2 separate regions of the Homo sapiens genome follow, and region 2 is linked to region 1. Evidence: promoter capture Hi-C in 16 types of primary human blood cells and fetal thymus (Javierre and others, 2016). All regions are on one chromosome and are shown on one strand. Each heading gives the region's core, a stretch centred on a gene start or on the middle of the fragment in contact. The rest is flanking DNA. Distances are from core to core; before and after follow the strand shown.

Region 1 (3,736 bases), core at 1-2,500:
CCCCCCACCGCTCTAGAACCGCGGGAGCTTCCGTCCCTGAGTAGAATTCGAGGGTGTAAAGAAGAGGAAGGGGAAAAATATCTTGTACCAGCCCAGGGGTGAAGAAGCCCCCGGCCTGAGAAAGAAGGAGGAGTGGGGGAGGCGAACAGTCTCGTTGCTGCCTCTGTGTACGCTGAGGGGGGAGGTAAGTTATAAAATGGCGGAGGCGAAGCTTCTAGAAGTTTGGAGGGGCACCCGGAGGGCGCTTGGCCCACCGTGAGGTGTGTATGATTGAAACAGGGCGAGAGAGAGGAGTTGGGAGGGAAAGAGGTTGGGCACTCTGTTGCCATTGAATTTCCCCTCTGCTTTCTTCGCCCCCATGGGGGGCAGCCATGGAACGGGGGGCAGAGTCCAGGCGGGAGGATCTTTCTCGCCCCCGCGGCGCCCCCCGCCCTCCTTTCTCCCTTCTCCCCCCAAGTCGCTACCCCAACACTTCCAAGGAACTTCCAGCCCCCCTTCCTCCCTACCTCCTACTCCTAGAGTGGCTTTCTACCGCAGGGCTCTTCTTTTCGACTACCCTCGCTGAAGATTTTCTCTTCCTTCCCTCGCCCAACTCTCCCTCGGGGCCTCTACGGAGACCCCCCCCCCCCATGGGTGGCCCAAAATGGAGAACGCGGAGCAGCGCAAGATGGAGGCTCCGCTTCTCTGTGTAGCAGTAGATTTAGGTTCCTTTTCTCCGGCAGGCTCCTAAGCCTAGGAGAGCCCGAACTGGAGGTGGGGTGGGGTGCGAGCCGTAGTCGGGGGAGGAAAGCCGGGAGGCTGTGGTTGGGGTGGGGGAGAGCGCGGTGTCGCGGTGAGGGGAAGGCAGAGAGCAAAATGGTGGTGCTGGGAACCTAGGGGGGAGGGGAGAAAGGAGGCTCAGTTGTGTATATTTGGGCCTCGGACCGAGGGAGGCGAGGGAAAATCTACTCTGATCACACCCCTCCCTCGTGCCCCCTCCCTTCTCCCTTCCCCTCCTCCCTTCCCTCCCTCCCCCCTCCCTCCCTCTCTTCCTCCCTTCCTAGAGAGGGAACAACATTCATGTGACGGGCCCCTCTGCTTCTCCCCCGCCCCATCATCTCCAGCGCGTGGTGGGGGAACTGCTGGGGAAGGCGATTGGCATCGATCTCTCCATCCCTTCCGAGGCCCGACTTCGGTCAGTTTTCTTCGGGCAACAATTTTCTAAATTGGCTGGGGTCTGGCGGTGTTGGCCCCCGCGCGCAGACCTTGCCCCGAAGGGGGCCCTGCCTGCCTGGCATGGGCGGAGGGGGGAAGGGCGGGAGTGGAAGGCTGTTTGTTGGGGGGTTTTGGCGCCACTTTTGTTTTAGTTTTAGTGCTGCTTTTCATTCCCACCCCCACCCGCACTGTCTTTCTCAAGGCACGAACTGAGCTGATCCTTGCCCCAGGTAGGCAGCCTGTGCGTTTTCACTCCACACTTTTATTCTTGCTCGGGGTCGACTTTCTTTTTTCTTCTCCCCTGGATCCGGAGATCTGCGGACGGCGATTTTGGGACGAAAAGGGTCGGATGGGCCGTGGGAGAGAGAAGGTGTGGGAAACAGCATCAAGTAGTTCCGCAAAACTTTGAGCCCCGTTCCCATTTTCTTTTGGCCTAGAATTGTGAACGTATTGTTGATTTCGGCCTTTTTTTCCCCCCGTCGCGAGAATGTCTTGTTTTGCCTTTAGTTTTTTATAAACCGCTGTACTTTCGACATTTAGTTTCCGCTCCCCCTTGGTGCATATGTCATTTTATTTTTAATCCTTAACTGTAATGGGTTATCGTGTGATTTTCGTGCTTCAGTGCTCGGCTTTAATTTTTAATATTGTATTAGTAGTTTCATCCGGTTTGTGAGACTTTCTCTTCCGTGGCCTAGAATGTTTTTTATGTTGTTGCCTACCACCCCTCTTCCCTCTCCCTCCTTCTTTCTCTTGGATGTAGTTTTTAAATTGAGGGCCATGGTGTTGGATTAAATGGTAATTTACAGTTTACATGATATATCTATTGGAAACTTTTGATCTGTAAGGTTAGATTTAAAGTAAACGAGGCGCTTGTGTTGGTTTGCAATGGTTCCTTAAAATGCGCGGGCCACCCCCTTCTCCCACCATAAAGCCCCATCTTCCCTTCACACTGGAGTGTAAATTCCATACCCCTTTTCTCCCACGGACCGCCGTATTTCGCAGCAGCCACACCCTGTATTTGTCTCTGTGGATTGGACTCATTATCAGCTTAATTTAGTGACTCTTAAACCACCATGATGGGACTTGCTTAAGCACGAAGCTTCTTTTCCTGTTTAGTCCTAGTGGTTAGTGTCGAAAGAGGAATCATCGAGGTTTCTTGATGAAACCTAGTGCGGTCCAACCTCTGCCTTTTTTTCTGTTGTCTTTTTTCCTACTCCGGGCTGTTGGCGGTGTCAGCACCGCTGCTGGGGGCGGGGGTGGAGGGGAGAAAGAGTCGGGTTACCGAAGTGCGTCATTCCTGGCTCTAGCAGGGCCTGCTCGGGAGCTGCTGGTGTTTGTTACTGTCCTCGCAGCACTTTTCTGCCAACCTTCTCTCTCTGCGTATTGGTTAGGAGCAAAAGCAGGAGGCGGTCTCCTAATTCTGTCTGTAGCCTAGCGCGTTGCGTTTAAGGGTATATCTGAACTTATTTTGTTAAAAAAAAGGCTCTGGGAAGTGGATGCATTTGTTTAATGACATATAATTCAGGTAGTTTAGGCTTGCTCTCATATACTTTCCGATGAACAGTGGGGTTAATTTTCAACATTTTCAACCACTTAACGTTAAAATGCCTGGTTTTCTTTCTACATTGATATCAATCTATAATTAGGGATCAGAAGGACCAGTTTAAGGTATATAAGTGTTCAGCAGTTTTTCAAGTGGTTGAATTGCAGTTTTATGACACATTATGTTAAATAGTCGATTTTTTTTTTTCATTTTGAACTAAGGTGCCACGTTAAGTAAGTTAATTGCAGATGTTTAAGTTCGTTTTCATCACATTTCCCTATTTGTCTTTTTAGGTATAATTTTAAATATGCCCTTTGGGTTTATGGACTTCATTAAAATTCTTAAAGATGGTTATATCTTTGTGTTTAACTGAATTCTTAAATTTATCACCTACCAAAGAATTGTGTAAGGCGTAAGGCGGCTGTATAGTTACATTGTTGGATTTTGACTTAACATGCTAGTTTTTGATACTTTTGCTATCTTTGGGTAGAAGTGTACTTAGAGAACATAGTATCTTCCTCTTAATTCTTTTTGAAGATAATAATGAGAGGAGGGAGTGGGTAGGAGGTAGGTGTGAAGCAGAAGTGGCCTTGAGTTGATTATTGTAGCTGGATGAATACAGAAGCGCTCATTGTTACTATTATTCTCTCTACTTTTGTGCGTGCTGTTAAACATTTCCATAGTTTAAGATAAACTTTTTTTGCAGTAGAATTTCCAGATTGTCTTACAGTCTTGGGGGTAATGACTTAAGTTTATATTTACATGTCAAAATTACTTGCATAGGAAATTTAGCCTTGTGTAAGTGATTACACAATGCTTGGCAAAACTTTCAAAAAAAAAAAAACGTTTAAACGGGAACTAGTATAAAACAGGCAACATAAATACTTATAAATTGGTTGAACTTTAAATGTTTATAACTTAGCCTGAATGTGCTCTACTTTTAGTTTCCTTTTTAATTCTTTGAAAACAGGAAAATTCCATTTGCAATTTTTGTAAATT
Region 2 (3,736 bases), core at 392-2,891, 8.5 Mb after region 1:
ACTGCTGAAAATTTGTTGTATAGTAATTCCATTGTAAACAGTTTGGTTGTTTGTTTCTAGGTAGACTACAGCACCTGGGCAGAAAACTGCACCATGCTTTAATAAGGGCAAAACAATATTTTTCTCCCTTTCCACACACTTGCTAAATTTAGTAGCAGAGCGTCTGCCAACCAAGTAGTTTCTACTGCTTTGGGAGAAGGAGTGAACAGCGATAGAATATTATCAGCTGAGCTGTGGGCAGAAGCCCATTTTAGTCTATATTTGAAGAAGTGTTGGTAAATATGAAAGCATCCCCCAAAAGTATCGCACATTAGAAAAAAGTTAAAAATTATTTTAAAAAGTAGTTAAACATTCAGGATTAGATTTTCATGGGCCAAGGAGAAGATGGAAATATAATCAGGAAAAATCCAAGGTGTCTGATAAGCCTCATTGTCTATTTACCTTTCACTGGAGGGGGAAACAAAACAAAACAAAATTCAGATAAATTGTATCAAGCATGGATGTTTAGTCATTCCCACATACCAACAATCTGTTTTCCAAACATTATATCAGTAATCACCCAAACGTTTATTCACTAAAGCAGGGAGTCCGCTTAATAAAAAAAGTACCAATCACTTCAAAATTAAATCTTGCAAGTTTTGTTTTAATTGATTCTTTCCCATGAAGTCTACCCACAAATACGGAGAGGCTGTGGGGATCCCAGCTCAATTTACAAACGATGTAAGAACATCTAGGAGAAAATAACTCCTTTAAAACATATTACTTTAATTAGAGCCACAATTAATTTATCTGTTTTATCTATCATCTAGCTAGCTAGCTAGCTAGCTAGCTATCTAAGAGTGCTCAGAAAAACACACAGTAGGTCTATTACCCTAATTATGAAACCACAACAAAGAATCACTTAAATGTCAACTTTCATTACTCGTCTGGGTTTAATTTCGTTTTCTTACCATAAAAGCTTATTGTGTGAGTGTTAAAAACTAAAGTTCCCTTTTTAATAGTCTCCTAAAATCTACTCTCATGCCCTTCAAACCCCAGTAGTAAAAGCGAGCTGCCCAAACGTGTTGACTCAGGGCAGGAAGAGACAAGGTTCTGCAAGGAAGCTGTGGCACTGCTCACGATATCGCGTGAAAATGGGGAAATTCGTTGTTAAAAAGCATTTGCTGATTATATGCCATGCAAGAAGTTCCTTTAAATTAAAAAGAAGAAAGTAGAAAAAAAGAAAGAAGGAAGGAAGGGGAGGAGGAAGAGAAGAGGAGGAAGAGAAGGAAGAAGAAAAAGGAGGAGGAGGAAAGGAGGAGGAAAATGATCAAAGCTCTAAAATCGCAACAAAGTTGCAGGATGACTTTTCCTCCTATTTGCTATTTTGTAAAATGAAGTTTAAAAGGCATTATTTCCTCGGCGTCCGAGGAAGGCAGCCTCTCTTACAAATCCCAATTCATCTCCAGCCTTACCTTACGCTGCTAGCGCAAACCCAGAGGCTAAGGGGCCCTGCTCTCAGCGGCAGCAGCAGGGGCAGCGGCAGCGACAGCGGCACATGCCATCTGTTAGCGGCAGAAGCAAAAGCAGCGCTGCGCGAGGTGGCCCCGGTGCCGGGAGAGCCTTTAGCAGGGGTGCATACTGAATGCCGCCATTTTAAAGCGAGGTTCCTGAAATCATTAGATATAAGCAAATTAAAGCCCGCCCCACCTCCAGAACTTCAGGGCTGGGACTTGCAACCCGGCTCCAAGTCGGCCGCTCTGGGGTATAAAATGTCAAGTCTACAGACACGCGCACGCTGACTCTCGGACGGAGGCGACGGTTCCCCCTCTCCCTTCGGCCCCCTTGACCCCTTCGTGCTTTTTGCAAGACTCCTTTCGGTTCCAGGGGCCAGAATACTTTCTTTTCTGGGCTCCTCGAGGCCCCTTCCCGGGGCCGGCCGGCGGGCTGTGGGAGGAGGGGACAAGGCCACGGGCCGGCCCTACCCGCTCCTCCCAGGCTCTTGGTTCAGTCCACTCGGAGCACACCTCGGAGCGCCCCAGCTCCCTCGCGGAGGCCGGGCGTGGGGCTCCCGCCCGGGCTCGCAGCTACCATAGCAACCCCGGTCCCAACCCCGCCCGGCCTTTGCCAAAGGCGTGCCCTCCTCCCGGGCCAGTGCCCTCCGCCGGACGCCAGACGTCCCCTCGCGCAGCCCCGCCGACCCCAGGCAGCCCGGGCTGGGGCCGCGCCTCCGTGCGTCCCGCGCCGGACAGACGCGGCACGCGGAGGGAAACGGCGCCAGCGAGGGGCTTTAGGCGCCAAAACGGAAACTCCCGCGAAACTCCGCGGGCCAGCGGAGCGCGGGCGGGCATCCGGAGCGCCGGACTCGGAAGCGGCGCACGCGGCCGCCCGGCCCCGCCCCGCCCGGCCAGGTAGCGCGGCGCCGCCGCCAACCTCACCTGGCTCCGCGCGCCGCTGCGGGACGGGCGGGAATGCGGCCAAGGGCCGCCCCGGCTCCCGCGCCCACCCCGGACTCTCTGGCCTCCGCCTCTCTCTCACTGCTCCCAAAGAGCGCCAAAAAGTCGCGCTGCGGCTCACGCTCGGAGTGCGGGCACTTTCTTCCTGTAGGGCGCTGTTTCGTCGCGAAATATATTCTTTGTGTGGTTCGCTCACTCGTGCCTGGTTCTCCGAGAGCGCAGCGCGGGCTTTATTCTCAGGGGGTGTGGCGCCTCGCCCCCAAACCCAGCAGCCCAGCCCCCGCTGCACAGACCCTTTGTCATTTCATTAGGAAGGGAAAGGGGGACAAATCATAACGCTCAGATTTTACAAAAGCGAAAACAAACGAAGCAGGCACACATCCCCAGAGGCGGGGTTGGGGTAGGGGTGCAAAGTTTCTGGCTCTTCAGGAACTGAAGTGCCAGTGAGAAAGGCAGTGTGGTTCACAGCGGGACGCTCATAGACACTTCCCAGACAGGTGAGGCGAAATGGGTCCTTTCAAAATTGATCTTAGTCGATGAATAAGTCCACTCGCTACAGGCTAAATAAATACATTCATACTCACCAGCTGCCTTCTTGGGGGTTTTATCTTTCATAAATGCCCCAATCGTTTATTTCCCTCTAAGAATTTCAGACAGGGAAATGCTGATCAGTGCAATCTGTTCCCCTTCTTCCACGGAGTTTGCAGGATAAGAGGAACCCTGAGGTAAGGTTCCAGATACTTTGGAAAATGGACAAAGCAAATGCAATTTTATATCTTGATTAAAAAGTGTGCATCTGCACAGGGAAATTACAAGTTTCGATTTAATGCAAGTGTAATAGGAGCACCAGCTGTCCCTTAATTGGAGCCCCACAATAATAAATGCGTGCTTTTATTTAATTTTACGAAGACAATTGTAGTTGATAACGCACACATATGCAGGATCGTCAGTGACAAGCTCATAGCAATTCATGGCTGCTTTCCTGTAATCAGCTACTTCACCCAGAGACAGAGTTCTACATGCTCTGCACAAAGTGCAAAACATTGCAGGAGATATTTAAGCAGCAGTTAGGTTGAAAAGTGGAGTGAATTCTCAGGCTAATTATACTTTTTAATTCTGATGGACTGATCCAAATAGAATTCTCCAGCTAATTTTAGGCAAGAAATCAATCTGTTTGTTAAGTGCAAGATAATAGAGTAGGATGGTAATGGCTGGGAGGACAAGACTGGGTACAAACTGCCCTTCAAATAATTGAGAAAACCCCCGATGGTTTTGGCAAGTATCGTGAAAGTCATTGGGAC

Evidence for each region. The method cuts DNA at HindIII sites, captures the fragments that hold promoters and counts their contacts. A CHiCAGO score of 5 or more calls a contact.
Region 2: the fragment with the promoter of MBNL3 here is called in contact with a fragment that was not itself captured in region 1 in 1 of 17 cell types (naive CD8 T cells); the score reaches 5.2 in naive CD8 T cells.

What each region holds. Positions count from the first base shown.
Region 1 is chrX:123,960,683-123,964,418 of GRCh38, forward strand. STAG2 (STAG2 cohesin complex component) reads left to right here and starts at 1,024. Exons shown (of 35, transcript NM_001042750.2): 1 at 1,024-1,174. STAG2-AS1 (STAG2 antisense RNA 1) reads right to left here and starts at 659. Exons shown (of 2, transcript NR_130770.1): 1 at 507-659. RefSeq lists enhancers at 604-653, 2,082-2,181, 2,272-2,531 and a silencer at 974-1,113. The HindIII fragment of the contact is 2,082 bases long and covers 210-2,291 here.
Region 2 is chrX:132,487,397-132,491,132 of GRCh38, forward strand. MBNL3 (muscleblind like splicing regulator 3) reads right to left here and starts at 1,642. Exons shown (of 9, transcript NM_001386889.1): 1 at 1,455-1,642. RefSeq lists a silencer at 1,921-2,490. The HindIII fragment of the contact is 7,236 bases long and covers 957-3,736 here.